Regions from separate parts of the Homo sapiens genome. Here regions 1, 2, 3, 4 and 6 are each linked to region 5. Evidence: promoter capture Hi-C in human tissues and cell types (Jung and others, 2019). All regions are on one chromosome and are shown on one strand. Each heading gives the region's core, a stretch centred on a gene start or on the middle of the fragment in contact. The rest is flanking DNA. Distances are from core to core; before and after follow the strand shown. Region 1 has its middle 22 kb from the start of WFDC8. Region 2 overlaps PABPC1L (poly(A) binding protein cytoplasmic 1 like). Region 3 holds the start of SPINT4 (serine peptidase inhibitor, Kunitz type 4). Region 4 overlaps STK4 (serine/threonine kinase 4). Region 5 holds the start of RBPJL (recombination signal binding protein for immunoglobulin kappa J region like). Region 6 overlaps STK4 (serine/threonine kinase 4).

Region 1 (3,354 bases), core at 264-2,763, 290 kb before region 5:
TTGCATGCCCATGTTCATTTAAGCATTATGCAGAAACGCCAAGATGTGGAAGCAAACTAAATGTCCATTGATGGATGCATGGATTTTAAAAAATATGGTAAACACACACCCACATACATACACACTAGACTATTATTCAGCTTTCACCAAGATAGAAATAACAGCTCTATCAGGTGACACAACAAGAATGAACCTGGAGGACATTGTGCTAAGTAAAACAAACCAGATGCAGAAAGACAAATGCCGCATGATCTCACTTATTTGTGGGATCTAATATAGTCAAACCCGTTGAAACAGATAGTAGAGTGGTGATAACCAGGAGCTGGAGGGAGGAAGAAGTGGGGAGAAGTTGTCAAAGGGGTACGAAGTTTTAGTTGTGCATAATCAATATTTTTTTGAGATCTGATGAATAGCAATGTGACTATAATTAACAATACTTTATTGTATAGTTGAACTTTGGTAAGATAATGTATCTTAAGCATTCTCACCAAAAAAAAAGGAAAAAAAGCAAGAAAGGAATAAAGGGGAGAAAGAAAATGGTAACTATCTGAGATGATAGACAAATTATTGTGGTGATTATTCCACAGTGTATATGTATATTAAATCATCAAATTGTGTACCTTAAATATATATATTTAAAATATATACATTTAAATATATACATTTTAAAAAGTCAAATGTGCATTTAAAAATACATTTAAAAACTATATGTGAGGCAGAAACTGATGGAACTGCAAGGAGAAATAGATGAATCCATTACTGTAGTTGGAGACTTCAACATGCCTCAGTTATGAATGGGATCCAGCAGGCAGAAAATTAGTAAGGACACAGTTGAACTCAACAGCACCATCAATCAGTCGGATATACAGGCATACCTCGTTTATTGCACCTTGTTTTATTATGCTTCGCAGATATTGCATTTTTTACAAATTGAAGGTTTGTGGCAACCTGCATTGAACAAGTCTACCCGTGCCATTTTGCCAACAGCATGTCCTCACTTCATGTCTCTGTTTCACATTTTGGTAATTCTCACAACAGTTCAAACATATCCATGGTAGTTTTAATAATCTCCCTACAGGGTGAATTCATTTGCAGGCATTGCAAATAAACCCAGGACACAGGTACAATCAGTTGTATACATCATGTCTCATGTCAGAGATGTTTATAATTGTCATTGTTGTGGTCATTTGAGCACTAGCATCCTGCCCTTCTCAGAGCCCAGAAAGTGTGAGACATATTAAAAGTCACACTTGGGACTGCCTTGGACTCTGAGAGTGGAAATACACTTGTCTTTTCTTCAATTATAGCAAATGAGGTGCATCTTATAACCACTTATGCTAATGAGAAACAAACATGGTAAACCCATTCTTTTGTTACCAGAGGAGGAGACCCTAGAGAGAGGTTCTGAACCTGGCTAGGAGCAGTGTGGGGATGAAACATGAGTATGGGCCTGATACTGATGGTAAAAATATGATTAGGAAACCAGATGGGAGATTCCATAATTCCAACTGCTTGCTTAACCTTTGTGAACAGGTTAGCATAGGGTGGGAGCAAGACGGTGGAAGGAGAAGCTTGTCTGTGAATCTGAAAACATATTGCCTACTCCTCTTTGCAGAAGAACACAGAGTGTTTCCCAAGGAAAGTGTGAAACAGCGTGAACCGAGCTCCACTCCTAGGAATATACCAGGGGAAGAGCTGGTATGATGGGCTGGATTTGGCTAAATATAGAAACTTTAGTGTAGCTCAGTATAGTATACAGGTACACAAGTTGAGGGTGTTTAGAAAGGCCAGATTCAGGGGTAGAGAGAGAGGGAGAGGGGGGGATAGAGAGAGAGAGAGAGAGAGAGAGAGAGAGACTGCTTTTACCAGAAGGAAAGCAAAGAGAGAGGCTTGGTGAAAGAAAAGAGAGAGAGGTATAGCAGTCAAAGACAGTGGAATATTTAGGAAAGATAAAGAGATGATTTTTAAGGGAATGTTACCATATGATAGTGATGTAACCTCCTCCTCCTATTTTAATTTTACCATCAGTAAAATTCCCAATATTTATAGAATTGGATTTATGTTTCTTTGTGAGTACAGCGATGTTTAACGGAGGGCCCATAAAAGATATTGATTGTTTGGCACCACTAGGGAATGCCTAGTTGTGTGTAGGTCACACACACATACACAGATACACAGACACACACACAGACACACACAGAGACACACACACCCCATGGAGATGCACTACATGGAGCATATACACCAAAATGATAACATGATAATTTCAGGGTCATTAAATTGCTGGTAATTTTCTATTTGCTTCTTATTGTTTTTCAGTTTTTGAAAAATTTTCTACAATAAATATGGATTGCTTTTGTAATCATAAAAAGAAAATAATGAGGAGTATATGGAGGAATGGGTAGAAAGCTCAGTCTAGTAGACACAAAAGCCCACAATTCTAAGCTTTCTCCACATGTACCTGCAAACCGTTGCCCCTTGGCCAATGCTTGGGTTCAGGTATATGCACACCAATGACAAGGTCCATTTTTTGGAAGATATATCTTAGGAAAAGCCTGCACAGGTCTGGAGATGGGCTTAGAGCCATTTGGAAAGGGTGTTCTTGGGTACTTGCTACCCATGGTAATCTAGAAGCGGCAGTGCAGTCTCCAGGTGAGCATCCTCTTGGTTCCATAAGCTTTTTGCTCTATGGGGAAATGACAGAGCTAGAGGAGGGCCCCTCAAAGAGAGGGCCTTCTTGTTTTGGTCTATGTGTGGCACAGCCTTCTCCATTTTTCCTCCCTTCTTCCTCACTATTCCAAGAGGCACCCATCACTAAGATGCACATATACTTAATATCATAAACCTCTAACTTCTATGACCCCTGGTTTGCTGTGATTCATACTAGATGACCCAAGCCCTGAGACCACATGGGTGGTAAGGATAGGACCTGAAGAGGGGAGAGAAGGTGGTACATTCAATCTGCCTGGTGCTGAACTCACTGCTTTGATGAGTATTGCACCCTTTTCAAGCTTCATCCAAAGACTTCCTTACAGACCACCTTCCAGACCTGTAAGAATTAACTGAGAAATTTCCAGGAACTTTTACTTACATTTCCCCCGCAAAACGAAAGAAAACGTCAGGTCATCTGAAGTTGGGAAGGCTTTGGCACGGTGGACACTGCCACTCAACTGATGTGTCAAGAGTTTGAGAACCACAAGCGGGCAAATCACTTGAGATCAGGAGTTCAAGACCAGCCTGGCCAACATGGTGAAATACCATCTCTACTAAAAATACAAAAATTAGCCAGGCATGGTGGTGCACGCCTGTAATCCCAGCTACTTGGGAGGCTGAGACAGGAGAATTGCTTGAGCC
Region 2 (3,721 bases), core at 467-2,966, 370 kb after region 5:
CACAAAACATGGTATGGGGTGAGGCTGGAGAGTGCTCTAGGATCTAGCTAGAATCAAGGGCTGCCTCCCTTTCCTGGGCTGGTTTTCACCTAATGGAAGTAGAGTTTTAGGATTCCACAGAGCAGAGTAGACAAAGGGGTCTGATCATCCCTTGGCTCCCATCACATAGTGCTAGGCAGCACTCGGCGTTAAGCACACCACCTCTGAGCTCTCTTAAGGATGAGTCTGTTGTCTGAGCCATCACAGACATCCAGGCTGAAGCAGAGTTAGAGTCAGACAAACCCCATCGGCACAGTCAAGGGACAGTTTCAAAGTGGGGCACCGTACCCCTTTTATTGCCTCATAAGCAGGCAGGACTGATGTGAGGCAGGTTTCGTGACATCCAGTCACAACTGGTTTACATCATTCTGAGCTCTAGAAGGCAAGCAACTTGATTTGCTAGTGAAGACACAGAGGGTGGGGCCGGCACAACCCGAAGAGACTACTCATTTTGTACTTCAAAAATGTCTGAAGAACACAACATAAGCTTCCTCATCCCCATCACTCATCTTTGAAATTTAACATCATTCAGTCTTTTCCAGAGATGCTTTGAGGAATAAAACTTCTGCTTCTCATAGGTTAATGTTTCTAGGAGAGGGACACACAGCTATCAATGTGACTGTCTTAATGGTCATGATGGAATTCTACCCCGACTCCCAGAGAAGGTAAAACACCGTTACGTGGGAATGACAGGGCAGAGAGCAGATCATGCAGGGTCTCCTAGGCTGTGTAAAGTAGTCCTTATTCTAATGATGGGAAGCTACTGCAGGATTTATGCAAGGATGAGACATTAGAGAGGCATTTTGAAAGAAGCCTTAGGACTGCATGGTGGAGGACAGACTGCGGGAGGGCCAGGGTAAATGCAGTTAACTGGCAGAAGGCAGTGAGCGCAGGGGTTGAGCTTAGCTCAAATTAGTGGATTTATTCCACTAGGTAGTGGTAGTGGATTTGGATCTGGTAGGAGGTCATGTTGGTGGATTTTCTCTGGAAGAGGGGAGGAGAGAAAGTGGTGTGGCAGCAGGGCTGGGGAAACCCTCTGATTTTGGCTTTTGCAACAGAATGGTGGGGCCATTTATGGAGACAGAACACTGGAAGAGAGAATCAGAGAATAAGACCGGGCACGGTGGCTCATGCCTGTAAACCCCACCCGAGGCGGGTGGATCACCTGACGTCAGGAGTTCGAGATCAGCCTGACCAATATGGTGAAACCTCATCTCTACTAAAAATACAAAAATTAGCTGGGTGTGGTGGAGTGCACCTGTAGTCCCAGCTACTCTGGAGGCTGAGGCAAAAGAACTGCTTGAACCCAGGAGGTGGAGGTTGCAGTGAGCAGAGGTCACGTCACTGCACTCCAGCCTGGGTGACAGAGCGAGACTCCGTCTCAAAAAAAAAAGAACCAAGGAATGAAAAAGAAAGAAACTTAGTTAAATCATAAGCTTGAATTTAGACATGAGTGTTACCAAGATAACCAGGAGCTGATGGCAGGTAGGCGGTGGAATGTAAGAGAGGTGACTCAGGTGCTCTTAAGAGTTGACTGGGCTGAAGAAAAAAACAGGGAGTCATCCTCGACTGGGTACAAATGGAAGATGCGCTTGTAAATTAGATAGCTCAGGAGAACATGGCATGAGAAACCGAGAGGGCCCAGGACTGAGAGTAAAGAAATGCCAGCAGTCAGGATTTGGGGAGAAGACGATGGAGCTGCACAGGGAACAGATTAAAAGCAGCCAAAGAAGTGGGCAGGACATGGTGAAGACAGGTTGGAGGTCTGTGGAGCGGAGAACAGGAAGAGTGAGTTGCTGAGAGTGGCAGAGCAGCCTTGAGGACTCGGTCAGATTTGTTGCTGGTGAATTTTTAGCAGAACCCAGTCTGCTTGGGTCATAGTAGCCACTTTCACTGGGCCGCTCCGGTACACGAGAGGGCAAAGACCTGGACTGTACGTCCCTGATGGGAGGTGAGCACTAACTGACACAAAGAAGCTTTTCGAGAGACTTCTCCATTAGGGGAGGAAAATCCTGACCTGGGAAGGTACCCTAAAACGTTCCTACAAGGGTTAATTATGTTACACAACCCCTTAGCCAGCCGAGAAGCAGCTGGGTGTTTGCCCTGCAGGGTGCCCAAGCCAGGGGCTGCATGCACATCAGATGGGGGCCCCTGTAGCTCTGGTCCATTGTGTGATATCCATGTCATCATCCACTGTACTGTTGATGGGTCAGTTCCTAACACTTCTCCTGCTCTTGTGTATATGCCCTCTGTGTACTTCAGCACTCCTTTAGGGTTTCTGTTTCTTAGAGCCTGAGCCCCACCCCAGTCATGTCTACCGTTTGCTCTGTCCCCACCTCCCTCAGACACAAAAGGGCCTCCTGGGAGGCAAGGCAGATTTTGCAGCACTTTTAATACACAAAGCAAAAGGTAATAGGCTGGATGGGTGACCAACCTTCATTCACATACAGAGCCCAAGTATAGATACAGACTAATTGGGAAATAAGTTAGAGTTTGCAGGGCCTTAGGGCTGAGAGCCAGAAACACTGTCCTTTTGGCAGCCATGGAAGCGAGGATTTCCTTTTCTGAGGACAAAAAGGTAAAAATAAGTGTTTTTAAAGTATGGCAGACACCCAGTCTTCAATAAAGAAGGTGGTTACATCCTGGCCAGGCCTTCAGGCAGGCAGAATGGAGCCAGGCAGGGCCCTGGGAAAGCCCAAACTATTCTGCATGAAGCCAGGCAGGGCAGCTGGCAAGAGGGCACCTCCTTCACCCTCCACCACCCCCCATTCCGATCACAGTTAATCATCTCCTCTGATTCTCACAACTTCCTCCAAACTCTTTGGTGCTTCAGAGAAAGCCAGGAACACGGCGCAATTCTCAGTGTTTGTGAAAGTCAGTCCCTGCCTATTTCCTTACAGCTTCTCCCGGGCTCAGCTGCTTCTGTCACCATTCCACCCACCTGGTTTCAGTGCATGTACGCCTTCGGCTGCTCCATAGCCTGGTGTGCCTGCAGCACGGCCACTGCCTCGTCTATCTGTGAGACATGAGTGGCGGGGGGGCTTAGTGCAGCTATCTTAGCAGGTCACAGAAGAGCCTTGATCTCCCCCTCGCTCACCATCCTGGATACAGGATCCTCCTCCATCCACAGGGTTTCTGTGGAACCCTCCCATCCACCACTGCTTGCAAGATCCCATGGCCCTGTCTGTCACCTTTGACACAGAGGTACATTGCTGGACAGCTGGAAAAATCTTAACCCTTACACTGAGTCACAACACACTTCCTTGTACCAAAAGACCTACCTACAGAACAACACAGAATTAGTCTACGGAAGGGCTGAAGTAGCAAACCCTTACCTAAGGCCCCTTCCACTCTTAAGATTCAGCAGGCCTTCAGGTATTAGCAAGAAGAAACACTTTATCTGGCCAAACAGCTATCCACTGGCTCCACTAGGAGAGCCCTTGTCGTTAGCTCTCCTCCTGCCCCCTCGGGCTCCCTGCTGCCCAGGCTCCTGCTTACCTTGGCATGGAGGGATTCTGGAGACTCCAGCATGAGCAACAGCTCTGAGTTGTCAATCTCCAGCAGCATGCCCGTGATCTTGCCAGCCAGCTGGGTGTGGACATCATGGATAAGGGGGTAGAGACGCTCCCCTGTGTGGAACACCTTCTAATGGCTTGTGCACGGCCTAGCTCACACCCCAGCA
Region 3 (3,847 bases), core at 1,041-3,540, 420 kb before region 5:
CACAGTAATTGTCCAATAGATGGTGGCTATTATTTTCTCTCTGGGCATTTGATTTCCTAACTGCAAAATGAGCAAATGATCCTGACAGCCCACCCAAATGTGGTTTTTTTTTTTTTTTTTTTTTAGATGGAGTTTTGCTCTTATTGCCCAGGCTGGAGTGCAATGGATGGCGCGATCTCGGCTCGCCGCAACCTCTGAACCCTCTGAACTTCTTGAACCCTCCCGGGTTCAAGTGATTCTCCTGCCTCAGCCTCCCGAGTAGCTGGGATTACAGGCATGCGACACTATGCCTGGCTAATTTTGTATTTTTAGTAAAGATGGGGTTTCTCCATGTTGGTCAGGCTGGTCTTGAACTCCTGACCTCAGGTGATACACCCACCTCAGCCTCCCAAAGTGCTGGGGTTACAGGCATGAGCCACTGCGCCCGGCCAACCCAACTGTTAAAACTTCTTATTTGAGCAATCCTCCCTCTTCCCACTCCAAGCAAGGTTAGCCCCTGATCAATTTTCTCTATCTTAGGATGTCAAAACCTCTTCTTTTACTACCCCCAAGGACCAAGGACAGGATTAGATTCCTTACGGTGGTTTGTATTTTGCAACACAGGCTACTTCACGTTCTATTTTAAGCTTGAAGTTGTTAAGGTTGCCATTACAGCCGGAGAAGACAAAAGTTTCACATCTTTTGGAGGTTCTGTTGTAGAAATATCTAAAGTGAACTTCATAGCAGCTTCCAAAATTCATGTCCAATTTGCAGGGATCTGCATGAGAGGTTCCCATTGAGTTAGTGGGAATTGGTAAGGACTCAGCAGGAGAACTTGTCTTTATGGGCCCTTAAAAATTCCTACGTTTAGCCTGGAACTATTCTCATATTCAAGGACTCTGAAAGATGTGGTTTTCTCTTGGAGTTAGAGTTGCTTGGAAATGTTGCCCTTGCACAATGCAAATTGGTTAAAATTCCAGGTTGTTGTCGTGAGCAGTGTATTGGAGAAGGAGAAGTAGTGATCAGTGAAAAAGGAGGTTCCACCACTAGCTTGTGCAGGGCGATGAGCTTCCCTACATTTCCTATCTTACAGTTTATTAAAGTACAGTATCCTCCTGCTTCCCCACATCATCTTCCTTTCCTTTTAATTGCCCACATAGGACATGCAATTCAGAGTGCCTCCTCCCCAGTTTCATACATTCACTATACTACCTATACTTCAAAATTTAAGTAACCATGGCTGCTGCTATCTTTAAAGCAGGATGCATACTAAAATGCTAAAATGCATAACCTTGGGGTGATGCTCGTTCATCCTCATACCCCGTCATCTTCTCCTTTCTTGCCTTCTCAGAGGCAAACCCTCTGTTTTTATTGTTAAGAGTTGGGTAGTAAGTGGTTGGAACAGCCACAATCATGGTTGTATTGACAATCCACCTTACTCAAGCAGCCAGCCTGGAATTTACTCTCTGGTAAAGTTATGTGCATAATCTTATTTCATACTCACAAACACCCTCTGCAGCAGGCACTTTTCTGATCTTCATTTTACACATGGGGAAACTGAGACTAAGAGAATAATAAGTGGTTGAGTGACTTGTCCAAGGGCACATATCTGCTAAGTGAACAGGTCCAGAACTTGAAGTGTCTGACTTACGGTATAAACTGTGCTACTTTCTCGTCCCCTGGAAGCGCTGAGCCTTCACACACTATCTATGGAAGAAAGTCTCATTGCCTCTCACATTTACATTGTGAGCTCCTCTAAACAGGAATCATCTGTCCAAGAGTTCTGTATATGTCCATAGCCCAGATACTGAAAATGTCTTAATTTGCTCTGTCTCCAACCCCCTTTCTCTCTCATCCCAATACATAATCATCAATGGTCTGGGATCTTTGAAATTTGTCACACAACCTCTGATTCAAAATACTTCCAGTCCTTTGGACCTCCTATAAAAGAGGTCTCCATCTGGAAAGGACTTTGTGTCATTTCTGTTTTTTCTCATCAAACATCCAGAGGACCCCTAGTGTAAGTAATGCCCTGAGTCAAGGGACTAAGTGTCTATGGGTATTGTCATGAAAGGAAGACCTTCCTGGACTACCTAGATAACACACTTTTCTCCCAATACCTTCTCTCTCATTCATAATTGACCTTTGGATTTATTTTCTGCCTTAGCTTCATACCTTTGAGGTCTCCACATATCTTCTCCGCAATTTTATTAACACCACCCAATAACAGGGTATTCAATGAGCAGAAGATGAAGAATCTTAGAAGAAATCCCAGCTTGGCAGACTTCATGGTGCAGCAAGCAGCAGGCAGGATAGTTGTGGTATCACCTGATGTTATATTTTGGGCTTGATACTTGAGACGGTTGAGCTCACCTACCCCAAGGGCCAGGACTGGACATTACTAGGTGTTGAGTTGAACAGTGAGTGCTTGGGTACCCAGCCATGAAGCTGAAGGCCCCAAACTGATTAGACCCTTGATAGTGAGTCCCATGTTCATCTAGAAGCAATAGAAACTTAAGGATCAGAGCTTCTGCATATATTTAATCATGAAGGGTAGAATCATCAGAGTGAGGAATTAAAAAGGGATTTCTTCCTTTCTCTTTTTGACCTTTTATGCACAGAAGAAACTAATCATGGCACAAGAGAAAGAGTGCAATAGCACTATAATAATAGTAACAGGGTTAGTTATAACCTAGAGTACTACTTAATTCCAGGTGCTATTTTTAAGTAATTTGTATATACTTTATCATCATATACACCCTATGAAGTAAGTACAGTTATTACCATCATTTAAGGATGAAATGGAGACAGAGATTAGGTTACATGTACAAGGTCACTCATTTATTATGTGGTAGAGACAAGATTTGAACTTGGCTTCAGAGTTTTTGTTCTTAGTCACACTACACTATGTTATCTAGGAACATGAGGACATCTTGGATCTGTTTTCTCCTAAAAGTTTTGAAGTTTTGGCTTACCTTTACACCCTAAAACCACCTGATGTTGATTTTTTGGTAAGGTATAACATAAGGATCCTTTTTCATTTTTCAGTGGTTCCAGACCTATTTATTAATGAGTTCCTCTTCTATTTAACTGCAAAATAATTTTGCTTAATTATGTGGGATTGCTTCTGAGCCCTTTATTTCACTCCACTGTATACCCCCACTCCAAAGCCACACTTAATCTCTTGAACTTTGTTTATCTTAGGATTTTGTATTTTCATATAAATTTTAGTCAGTTTATCAAGTTATTCAAAAGACCTGTTTCGGGCCAGGCGTGGTGGCTCATGCCTGTAATCCCAGCACTTTGGGAGGCTGAGGTGGGTGAATCCCATGAGGTCAGGAGTTGGAGACCAGCCTGGTCAACATGGCAAAACCCCGTCTCTACTAAAAATACAAAAATTAGCTGGTTATGGTGGTGAGTTCCTGTAATCTCAGCTACTTGGGAGGCTGCGGCATGAGAATTGCTTGAACTGGGAGGCAGAGGTTGTAGTGAGCTGAGACTGTGCCATTGCACTCCAGCCTGGGTGACAGAGCAAGACTCTGACCGAAAACGAAAACAAAAACAAAAACAAAAACAAAACACCTATTTTGGATATTCATTTGAATTGCACTGGATCTACAAATCAATTGGAAAAGAATGATATCCTTATAATATTGTCTTTGATATATATATTTCCATCTATTTTGACCTTCATTAATATTTTAAAGAAAGGTTTATGACATTTCTCATGCAGGTGTTACAATCTTATTTATATTTTTAATATTATTGTAAATGCTATCTTTTAAAAAAATCTTCAACTTTTATTTTAATTTCAGCGGTACATGTGCAGGATGTGCAGGTTTGTTACATACATAAACCATGTGTGCCA
Region 4 (3,522 bases), core at 201-2,700, 260 kb after region 5:
AAAAGCCGAAAAACATTAAAACTCAGAGTTTGAAGTGGAAAGTTTCTATCTGTAAAAACAAGCCACTTTTAGGTACTATAAGCTATTAAGATTTGGTAATTCTAAATTAATTATGTATTTTTTAAACCCTTGGTTGTTAGAAAAATATAAAGCTCGATTGCTACCTTACTCTTAACACCAAGACAAATACATGATAGATTAAATATTGAGAAAGAAAAAATAATAAAACATTCTAAAACAAAGTAAGGGTTAATATTTTTGTAATCTTAGAATGTGAAAAACTTTCCCAAAGATGACATAAAATTCCAGAAACCACAAGAAAAAGCTAATAAATCAAAATATATAAAAATTTAAATGTCTGAAGTTAGATACCATATACAAAGCTTTAAAAGATATTCTAGCAGAATATCTTTACCACATATGTTAAAAGGTTCATAACCTGACTTGATAGCTGAAGAAGTCTTTAAAATCAATAAAGAAAATAAGAATTCCATGGAAAATTCAGTAAATAATATAAAGCAACAATTCACATACCAAAAACGATAGGGAAATTTAACAATATGTATCAAAATTTCAAATTTGTGAACAGTTTGACCCAATAATTCTACTGCAGGAATTAATTCTAAGGGCGTACCATGCAAAGATGTTATTAAAGCAATATTTATTAATATTAAAAAGCTGAAGGCTACCTAAATGACCATCAGCTGGAGACTGGTTAAATCAGAGATCACAAACACAAATGTTTTGAGAGACTGGCAAAGACAACAGAAATAAACTCAACAGTCTGCTCATAAAACAAAAACAGGAAGTGATGGGGTCTGTGAAGAGCTGGAGAACTCAGACCCATTTCAGTAGTTCAAAGTATAAAAATTACATGTGCCACAGGCCAAACTGGCTCCCCCTTTCCCAGTCCCCACACACCCCCAGAGTGAGATGTGTAATCTGTAGCCATGGCACGAGCACTGCTGACTGTTCTCTCTGCAGCCAGCCTAGGAAGATCCCCTTACTCTGAATGCTCGTCTGTTCTATCACATTTGAGTAGATACAAAGGAGCTCATTGATGTGGCCAAACGGATTCTCAGGATTAACAAAACCTTAAAGGTCATCTAGTCTAACTTGAAGCTTTCCTTGAGGCTGCAGTCATTCAGACGTTTAGGCCCAGGTGAACAGTGTAGAGAGGGGAGGGGAAGGAAGTGGAAAGTGATGGAGTACAAAGCCAGAAGTCAGGGAATGAGGACTACACTTGGCTTTCCTGTGGGATTTTCATTTTCCACAACAACAAAATTGAGATGGGAGGAGAAGTGGTGAGAATTCTTAAAAAGCTGAAATCCTGTGCATCACATATTTTCTGTATCACTGTACGTAAAACTCCATTAACCGAATACCAGGAACTCAAGCATTATTCTAATATGAAGTGCTGAATTCACAGTACCATTGTTAAACATCCGTTTAGCAATGAACTCTGGGCAGCTGTTACCCTCACTGACCAAGCTGGCAAAGGGAAGAGTTCCACAGATAATGTGACAGATTGTATATGGTATTTTTACTGCAAGATCTTAATTCATCCCAGGAACTGTTTTAAAAGAATAGTTGTAGTTTATAATTGCAGTCTCAGCAGCACTTCCAAAAGTGGAAAACCTCCACTTGAAATTGGAATGGAACATTTCTTCCCAATGTGTGAAAATAACTTTATGCTTGGTCCTGCATATCTAGGAATAAGAGCACTTGGGAGGGGGTAGAAAATTTCCTGACTTTACCTCATTTTTAATAGCACTACATTAAGATTTATTAAACTAGATGCATCCATGTCTAAAGAACAGTTTTTGCTGTGTATTTTCTCCTAAGTAAAGGGCAAATGGAAGTGACTAGTGGGTCTATAAAGTAGATTCAAGTTTGCTCTCCCTCCAGCTGCTGGCCACCCTCTGATCCAATGCTCTGCAATGTGAACTCTGCTTGATGAAAGGGTACCCTCGGCAGCTGATGGATCCCATACAGCTCTCTCTGTCTCTCTCTGTCTCTTTCATACATACGCACATACATTTACTTGAGCTATTTTACATTAACAAATGTACCATCAGGAAAAAACTGTTTTGAAAAAAAAAACATCAATGTGGGAACTGTCCAGGACCTATAGCCTCCAGGCAGGCACAGAAGGGAAGCAATCAGAGAAAACACAAAAGGTCTATCAGTGTTTTAGTGAGTATCCTTGATATTTAAACCCTAGGAACAAGAAAGTCATAACAGAATTAAGCTCACCCTAGGAACAAGAAAGTCATAACAGAATTAAGCTCATCTTAGGTATAAAATAAATATCATGGCTGGGCATGGTGGCTCACGCCTGTAATTCCAGCACTTTGGGAGGCCGAGGCGGATGGATCACCTGAGGTCAGGAGTTCGAGGCCAGCCTGGCCAACATGGTGAAACCCCGTCTCTACTAAAAATACAAAAATTAGCCGGGCATGGTGGCGGGAGGCTGAGGCAGGAGAACCACCTGAACGCAGGAGGCAGAGGTTGCAGTGAGCCAAGACCACGCCACTGCACTCCAGCCTGGGCAACAGAGCAACACTCCGTCTCAAAAAAAAAAAATCACAAAGCAAACAATGTGTGAACTAGCAGGGCCTGCAACAAAAGTGTGAAATAAGTGTAGGTCTTCCTCTTACCTTCCTTTTTTAGGGCAGCCCACCTCAGTATCTTTCCCTTTTCCAGTAGTTCATCCATGTCTCCCACCCTAAGTGTTACACATGTAAATAAAATTTACTGAATGCCTACTCTGTGTCAGATACTCTGCTAAGCACTTTAAAAGCATTTTTAAATTAATCTTCTCAATAACTCAGAAGTAAATATGATTAGTATCTTCATTTTAGGTTGGGTGAGAAGCCTAGAGTTACTGGTCCCATAAATAATGAAACCAGCAATGGATCCAAGTCTATCTGCTCTTGGTCAGTATATCAGACTGCCTTCTATGCTCATGTTGGCGTCCTGGGTGTCCTAAGCATTTCTCTGCTTTTAAAAGAACAGGAAAAGAACCTTATATATACTGAGCATCTTTTACACACTTTACACAAGCTCTTTATTTTAGGCTCACATGATCCCTATGAGAGAGACGCATTAGCTGCATTTTTTAAATTGGCAAACAAAGACCAAGAGAGTTTGAGGGCTCTTGAAGGCTTAATCTTACCTTTAGCAGACAAAGAAACAGAGTCCCAGAAAGGTTAGGTGGCTTACTTAAGGACACAAAGCTAGTTACAGTCAGAGCTGAGACCTGATTCCCAACCCACTGCTCTTCTTCACTATAAATAAGCCATCACTCTAAAAGGAACCCACATATTAATAATAGATTAGGAATGCCAGGCACTTTGCTAAATGCTTTATGCTTTATCCAATTCGATCAAGGGAATTCCCAACACTGTATTTCCAATCAATGTTTTTTACTACAGTTTTACCAAAGAAGCAGGGAAGAAATCTAAATTCCACATCTATGAAATTATAGTCCAATTAACATATTCCTATACACATAGATGA
Region 5 (3,765 bases), core at 482-2,981:
AGGGAAGTGCCTTCTAAGCTTCCAATGAATTCCGGCTGTGGAGTGTGGCTGCCCCGGTCTCCCCAGTCTCCCGCTGTAGCTGAATTCCAGCCTGGCCCGCAGCTAGCCCTGTCTGCAGCTCCAAGCGTGGTAGGAGCAGGGGGTGCTGGGTTTGCCCCCCCTCAGGAGGAAGGGGGGATCCCTCCCTGCCAGTGGGAGGGGTTGCAGCCTGCACTTCCCCTCCCCACCCGCCAGCCCTGGGTTAAATGCGGCCGTTGCCTCTGTGTGCTCCAGCTGCCTGGCAGTCCCCACCTAGGGCACGCTGCCACGCCGCCGTTACCTGGTCCAAGTGCCCGGGAGGCTCCGCCTGTCGGCTTCGCTCTGCAGCTGCATCTCTGATCTGTCCTGCAGGCTCAGGTGAGTCAAAGGATTGGGAGGCACTGAGGGGTCTGCAGGGGAGTAGGCATCAAGCCAGGTCAGGCGAGTGTATTTTAGCAGAGACGCTGCCTAGGGTGCCCTATCTGATTTGCAGTGCCCTTCCCCACTTCTGCAGGGTCCTTTCCAAATCGAGCCCCCACCCTCAAAGCCATCAAAATAGGATCATCCCTTTTCTACTCTCATCCCTCCAGGAACCCCCTGAAATGTCCCTAAGGGACTTTTGAGAATTTATTTACAGGCCTCTCCTCCCTTGCTGCTCCACTCCCTCAACCTCACCTCAGGGCATCTCTGAATCTTTCTTTTTTTAATGCAAGGATTAACTCCTCAGAGGAATCCCAGGTTCTAGTATCAGTCCTGCCACGACATCGCCATGTACCCTTCAGCAAGACACTACCCTCTCTGGACCTAGTTCCTTTCTTTGTAGAATGAGGGGTTTGGAAAGGTGATGAACTTTGAGGCATTTGCTATTTTGACTTTCTAGGATTCCTGGGGTGGAGGCAGGGTGCCAGGTGAGAAGTTGGCTCAGACCAAGAATGGGATGAGGGGAACCTTAACCAAGATTTAGGGGCCCAGAGGCATCTCCGGGTAGGAAAGTATGGGAGGTGGCAGAGGCCCCTTGTGCCTTAGCCCTCATGCTGTCCAGGGATGTTGGCTTTGCCTGTGGCCCAAGCTTGACAAGGGTTCCCCGCCCTCCCACTTCCACCAGCGCTGCCACATCTTGCTTGGTCACCCTCCCACGACGGGCCCTGCCAGAGGATTTATGTTCTTCTACCAGGCCTGGGAGGGGAAAAGGGAGAAGAATCCGGGATGAGAAGGTCGCCTGGAGTGAGAAGCAGGCACTGGCCTCGCTCAGAATAGGCGCATTCACGGAATTGGGGGGCGGGGGCGGAGCTGCTGTTGGGTTAGGGGCAGCTGGCCCTCTCTGCCAAGAAACAGCAACAGAAAAATGGCTAACACAGCTTCAGCATGGGGCGCGGCGGTGGGGTAGGAGCTGGAAGGAAATGAGGTTTAGTGAATTCTAGGCGCCAGGGGGCCTCAAGAGAGAGAAGGGGAACCAGGAGCCCTAGGTTCTAATCCTGCTTTTGCAGTTCGGCGGGCTGCCTCCTTGGGGCTTAGTTTTCCTATTTGTATAGTGGGGAGGGGGTGGGGGGGTGGTCCTTCGTAGTTCTCACGGGGCGTCTCCGGGGCCTCGGGAGGGTAAGCGCTCACCTGCTGCCCCTGCGGGGTCCATGGTGGCTCCACGGGGCCCCAGCCGCTCACCCGCCGCCCTCTGGACGAGTCCAGTGCTGCTGTCGCTGGAACCCTGCACACCCCTGCTCCTCGGCTCTTGCGCGGGTTATATCCTGTCCAGGCCTTATCTCCAAGGCCCCGGGCCCCGGCCCCCTGTTTGCTCGGGGTGGGCGCACCTGCTGGGCAGATGTGGGCTTCCCACGCCCCCTGCCATCTCGGGCGCCCCCTGGCGGTCGCTCCTGAGAGCAGGCGGGAAACAGGCGCCAAGCCGCGCGTTCTCGTGCGCAGTGGGTTTTGGTCCACTCGCTGCCACGCCACCACGCTCAGCCCCGCAACAGGGCGCAGCCCCTCCCTGCCGCCTGCGGTTGGGCAGTGCATGTCTGTGTTTGTGTGTGTGGAGGGGTCTGGGGGGGTTGGCGAGTTGCAAAGACAGCCACACAGAAGCCTGTGTGCGTAGGGGAGTGGGCCGAGGTGGGGAAGGGCTTCTGTCTGCAGAGGTTCGCCTGGCAGGAGGAGAGGCACCAAACGCCCAGGCTGGCTCACAGAAACTAGCAGGCGTGGGATTGTATCCTGCCGCAGCCACTTTTTGGCCGAATGACTTTGGGTACCAGCGCTTAACTTTTCTGAGCCTCAATTTCATTGTCTGTATGATGGGGGACAATCACAGCCTTAGTCTTACAATTGCAGAGAGGATTAAATGCCACAATGCGTGAAGAGCATTTAACACTGTGCCTGACATTTAAGGAAGACCTGTTTTTTTCTGTTTAAATTTTGCATATTTGTATCTATGTATCTATTCTTATTTACCATTCTCTTGTGGGCCGAGCGCGGTGGCTCACGCCTGTAATCCCAGCATTCTGGGAGGCCGAGGTGGGAGGATCACCTGAGGTCAGGAGTTTGAGACCAGCCTGACCAACATGGCAAAACCCGCTCTCTACTAAAAATACAAAAAATTAGCCAGGTGTGGTGGCAGGAGCCTGTAATCCCAGCTACTCGGGAGGCTGAGGCCGGAGAATCGCTTGAACCTGGGAGGCAGAGGTTGCAGTGAGCCGAGATCATGCCACTGCACTCCAGCCGGGACGACAGAGCAAGACTCTATCTAAAAAAAAAAAAAAAAAGAATCTCTTGTGTTTCCCAGCAATCCCACTGTGATGAGAATTTTTTAATTCTGAAACATTTCAAACATACACAAAAATAGAGAGATTAGTAAAATAAACCTGTAACTGTCTTCCCCCTCCAAGTGCCTATCACCCAGAATAAGAGCTCTGTAAATACTGTTGCTTTTCTATTTTCCTTCCTCCCTCCAGGCTCTGACACCTCCATTCTCTGTCCCCAAGCGCCATGAGAGGCCTTCTTTGCTGGCCCGTGTTGCTGCTCCTTCTTCAGCCCTGGGAAACCCAGCTCCAGTTGACAGGTGAACTGGGGCCCAGCCCTCACCAGTGGGAGGAGGGGAGCGGAAGCAGGTCCTCCCTCTGCAGCCAGCTCCTCCTGCTGGGGAGAGGGAAGCAAGGGCTTTGGAACATATGGGACTGGGTTTAAGTTCCCCACTTCACCTTTCTGGGCCTCAGTTTCTTCATCTGTAGGATGTGGCTTAGTTTTGGGCGCATGCAGAACTGCCCATGGGGTGTTTAATTTGGAAAAATTATTTGAAAACATGGAAAAAAACCAGGAAATTTTACATAAAAATCCCTGTTTAGTATTTCTCTTGAAAAACCAGGGATCTGCTGACATCCAATTCGCAGGGGCATGGCCTCATTTGGATGCAGCTACCTGCCCAATTTAGGAGTGATAGGGGCTCTTTGGGTCTCCAGCGTCCTAACCCAACCAGTTCATCCATGTTCCCTGCCTGGTCCCTGCAGGCTTTGAGTTTGCGACGCTTCCTTGCCCCCTCGTCAATGGGTAATACCGCCTCAGAATAGCCCTCAGATCTGTAAGATGAGGGAATTTGTGAAATCTCCTAGCCCAGGTGCTAGGCACATGCCGGGCGAGTGCATCTGTCTAATCTGCGTTTGCTGTGCTGGGCGCTGTTATGTCGGCATAGCGGCATTTCCCCTGGGTTTCCTAGGGGGTCTCCTCGGAGGTGAGGCTTTGCTGACCTAGGAGAGTCCTCCCTGATCT
Region 6 (3,438 bases), core at 579-3,078, 280 kb after region 5:
AAGAAGACATACACATGGTCAATAAGCATGTGAAAAAAATACTCAACATCACTAACCATTAGAAAAATGCAAATCAAAACCACAATGAGATACTATCTCATACCAGTCAGAATGGCTATTATTAGAAAATCAAAAATAACAGATGCTGGCGAGGTTGCAGAGAAATGGGATTACTTATACACTGCTGGTGGGAATGTAAATTAGTTCAATCATGGTGGAAAGCCATGTGTCGATTTCTCAAAGAACTTAAAAGAGAATTACTGTTCAACCTAGCAGTCCCATTATTGAGTATATACCCAAAGGCACAGAAATTGTTCTACCATAAAGACACATGCATGTGTTGTGTTCGCTGCAGTACTATTCACAATAGCAAAAACATGAAATTAACCTAAATGCCCATCAATGACAGACTGGATAAAGAAAATGTGGTACATGTTGACATGGTATACTACACAGCCACAGAAACGAGCAAGATCACATCCTTTGCAGCAACATGGATGAGCTGGAGGCCATTATCCCAAGCAAACTAACACAAGGACAGAAAACCAAATACAGCATGTTCTCACTTGTAAGTAGGAGCTCAACACTGAGTACACATGGACACAAAGAACAGAACAATAGAAATCAGGGCTTCCTTGAGGGCAGAGGGTGGGAGGAGGGTGAGGATCGAAAAACTACCTATGGGTTACTATGCTTATTACCTGTGTGATGAAATAATCTGTACACCAAACCCCCATGACACACAATTCACCTGTGTAACAAACCTGCACATGTACCCCTGAACCTGAAATAAAGGTAAAAAAAAGAATAAAATAGTTGTTTTACAAATATTCCATGTTTTTAAAGTTTCATATATATTAGAAATTTTGTCTATTTTCTGTTTTATCAGTGTTGTTAATTGCGTTAGTTTTTTGTCTAACTGAAATGTCAATTTTGGAGAGAAGAATATTTAAGTCTTCTTGATTAACTTCTTGAAACTATAATTGCAGTATTCTCATTGCTCCTTCTATTTCTATCAGTTTGGGATAAATATGTATGTTTCATATAGGTGCATGACTTACATCTTCTAGATAAAGTATACCTTTTAACAGTATAAAACATATCCTTCCCAGGTAACATTCTTTTGTCTTAAATTCTATTTCATCTGATTTTTTTTTTTTTTTTTTTTTGAGATGAAGTCTCGCTGTGTCAGCCAGGCTGGAGTGCAGTGGCATGATCTCGGCTCACTGCAACCTCCGCCTCCTGGGTTCAAGCAATTCTTCTGCCTCGGCCCCCTGAGTAGCTGGGACTACAGGTGCATCTGCCACCACGCCCAACTAATTTTTTGTACTTTTAGTAGGGATGGGGTTTCACCATGTTGGCCAGGCTGGTCTCAAACTCCTGACCTCACGTGGTCCGCCTGCCTCGGCCTCCCAAAGTGCTGGGATTACAGGCATGAGCCACCATGCTTGGCCTCATTTGATATCAATATTGTTTCACCCACTTTCTTTTAGTGAGTATTTGCCTAGTGTATCTTTTTCCATTCCTCTGTTTTAAACTTTTCGGTTGTATTTTCTTTCCGTTACATCTCTTATAAACAGCATTTAGCCGGAATTTGACTGTTATTTTTATCCAGACTCTTTCTCTTCTAATAGGAGATTTTAGTGCACTCACATTTACTGTGATTACTGATGCATTTACATTTAAACTGCTATCCCATGTGTCACTCGGCTCCAGCCACAATGGACTCCTTTCCTTCCTTACACATAGTCTATGTCTTGCCTCACAGTCTCTGTACTTATTTCCCCTACCTTCCTGTGACTTGCTTCCCCTCTTCACTGATGTCTCAGCTGAATGTCCTGTCTCTCCACAGGCCTTTTCTCACAATATCTCTTAACTGTGCTTTAAAAAAAAAAAAAATTCGCTATTATTACCTGAACTGATACCTACTAGGGTACTGGCTTAATGTCTATTTCCTTCACTGTAAACTCCATGAGAACATGGGCCTGGTCTGTTTTGTTCACCACTGTTGGCACTTGGGCCATCTTTTTTTTATTTTTGTAATAGAGATGGGGTCTCACTATGTGCCAGGCTGGTCTCGAACTCCTGAGCTCAAGCAAACCTTCCACCTCAGCCTCCCAAAGTGCTGGGATTACAGGTATGAGCCACTGCACCCAGCCTGGGTCATCTTAAACTAAAATATTACAGTGTGTTTTTGGAAGATTCATGAGCCAAATTGGATTTAAGTTTACAGCTGTTTGTGGCTTTATGAATGGCAAAATGGGAAGGTCTGAATTCTCACAAAATATTACATTTTTTTCCAAAAAAGTGATCTGCTAATAGAATATGAAATATCAATTTTAGAGACTATTGCATTTTTAAGCACCTTTTATATTTTAATCACTATGTATCTTAAACACTATTAGAAATTTTTGGAGGGGTTTCTCAACTTGGCAAACAGGCAATTCACTTTTAGAAATGAGACAAATATTCAGTTTCAGATGAAAATATGAAGTTTTGTCAGTACAAAATTCGGCTACTCCTGATTAAATTACTTCCTATTTGCCATTTTGGGCAAAAAGGTCATTGGAAAGCAGCAATTCTCTTCATAGGAGGAAACAGAATTATCTTTTTTCATAATTAAATACTATCTGCCTAGAAATCAGAAAGTCTGTAAGAGATTGTGAAGGAGGCTGGGCCCGGTGGCTCACGCCTGTACTCCCAGCACTTTGGGAGGCCAAAGAGAGTGGATCACAAGGTCAGGTGTTCAAGATCAGCCTGGCCAAGATGGTGAAACCCTGTCTCTACTAAAAATACAAAAATTAGCTGGGTGTGGTGGCAGGCACCTATAATCCCAGATACTCAGGAGGCTGAGGCAGAGAAGTGCTTGAACCCGGGCGGCAGAGGTTGCAGTGAGCTGAGATCATGTCACCACTGCACTCCAGCCTGAGCAACAGAGTGAGACTCCATCTCAAAAAAAAAAAAAAGCAACTGTGAGGGAAACATGTTAGCAAGTCTGACACATATCCTTCGTTAAGCTTTCAGGAGATTATTCAGAACTTTCTTCACTCAAAGGACTAGCTCTTTATTTGCCAGATGTCACTTACAAACATACATTTTCCATATTTTATGTGCTTCTTTGGTACCTCCAGTAAGAGTATAGGAGACTCAAAAGGGGAATAACAAGGAAATTTAAAAATCATACAATGTTAATAAAATAGAAATACATCCTTATCTCTGAATTTCTATAGTACCTAATAGAAAAGAAAACAAGAAATGTATATGAAGATATACTACTGTAAAAACCTTTTAGAACAACTTTAGTGGGTAAGAGTCACCAGGAGGACAGGTTAAAACACCAATCAATGGGTGCTGTCCCCAGATATTCCTATTCAGTCTGCCTGGGGTAAGGCCTGAATAACTGCCTTTCTAACAGTCTCTAGGTGATGCTAACACTGC

What was found. The method cuts DNA at HindIII sites, captures the fragments that hold promoters and counts their contacts. A contact is called where the count stands out against the background at its distance.
Region 1: a contact is called between a fragment that was not itself captured here and the fragment with the promoter of RBPJL in region 5, in 1 of the 25 tissues and cell types used here (dorsolateral prefrontal cortex).
Region 2: a contact is called between a fragment that was not itself captured here and the fragment with the promoter of RBPJL in region 5, in 1 of the 25 tissues and cell types used here (dorsolateral prefrontal cortex).
Region 3: the fragment with the promoter of SPINT4 here is called in contact with the fragment with the promoter of RBPJL in region 5 in 1 of the 25 tissues and cell types used here (spleen).
Region 4: a fragment that was not itself captured here is called in contact with the fragment with the promoter of RBPJL in region 5 in 2 of the 25 tissues and cell types used here (dorsolateral prefrontal cortex and mesenchymal stem cells).
Region 6: a fragment that was not itself captured here is called in contact with the fragment with the promoter of RBPJL in region 5 in 1 of the 25 tissues and cell types used here (dorsolateral prefrontal cortex).

Annotation. Positions count from the first base shown.
Region 1 is chr20:45,599,159-45,602,512 of GRCh38, reverse strand. No RefSeq gene overlaps it. Among named protein-coding and RNA genes, the nearest start is that of WFDC8, 22 kb to the right of the region's middle. The HindIII fragment of the contact is 6,478 bases long and covers 1-3,354 here.
Region 2 is chr20:44,938,008-44,941,728 of GRCh38, reverse strand. It overlaps PABPC1L (poly(A) binding protein cytoplasmic 1 like), which reads right to left. Exons shown (of 15, transcript NM_001372179.1): 13 at 3,538-3,668; 14 at 2,981-3,055; 15 at 2,413-2,603. The coding sequence ends at 2,987. Among named protein-coding and RNA genes, the nearest start is that of TOMM34, 21 kb to the left of the region's middle. The HindIII fragment of the contact is 3,038 bases long and covers 198-3,235 here.
Region 3 is chr20:45,720,790-45,724,636 of GRCh38, reverse strand. It overlaps SPINT4 (serine peptidase inhibitor, Kunitz type 4), which reads right to left and starts at 2,290. Exons shown (of 3, transcript NM_178455.3): 1 at 2,155-2,290; 2 at 580-757. The coding sequence starts at 2,269. The HindIII fragment of the contact is 7,531 bases long and covers 1-3,847 here.
Region 4 is chr20:45,047,576-45,051,097 of GRCh38, reverse strand. All of the region lies in intron 10 of STK4 (serine/threonine kinase 4), which reads right to left. Among named protein-coding and RNA genes, the nearest start is that of KCNS1, 52 kb to the left of the region's middle. The HindIII fragment of the contact is 3,661 bases long and covers 1-3,280 here.
Region 5 is chr20:45,304,806-45,308,570 of GRCh38, reverse strand. It overlaps RBPJL (recombination signal binding protein for immunoglobulin kappa J region like), which reads right to left and starts at 1,731. Exons shown (of 12, transcript NM_014276.4): 1 at 1,627-1,731; 2 at 320-428. The coding sequence starts at 1,648. It overlaps MATN4 (matrilin 4), which reads left to right and starts at 272. Exons shown (of 10, transcript NM_001393530.1): 1 at 272-396; 2 at 2,955-3,061. The coding sequence starts at 2,989. The HindIII fragment of the contact is 4,763 bases long and covers 554-3,765 here.
Region 6 is chr20:45,029,636-45,033,073 of GRCh38, reverse strand. All of the region lies in intron 10 of STK4 (serine/threonine kinase 4), which reads right to left. Among named protein-coding and RNA genes, the nearest start is that of STK4, 65 kb to the right of the region's middle. The HindIII fragment of the contact is 5,333 bases long and covers 1-3,438 here.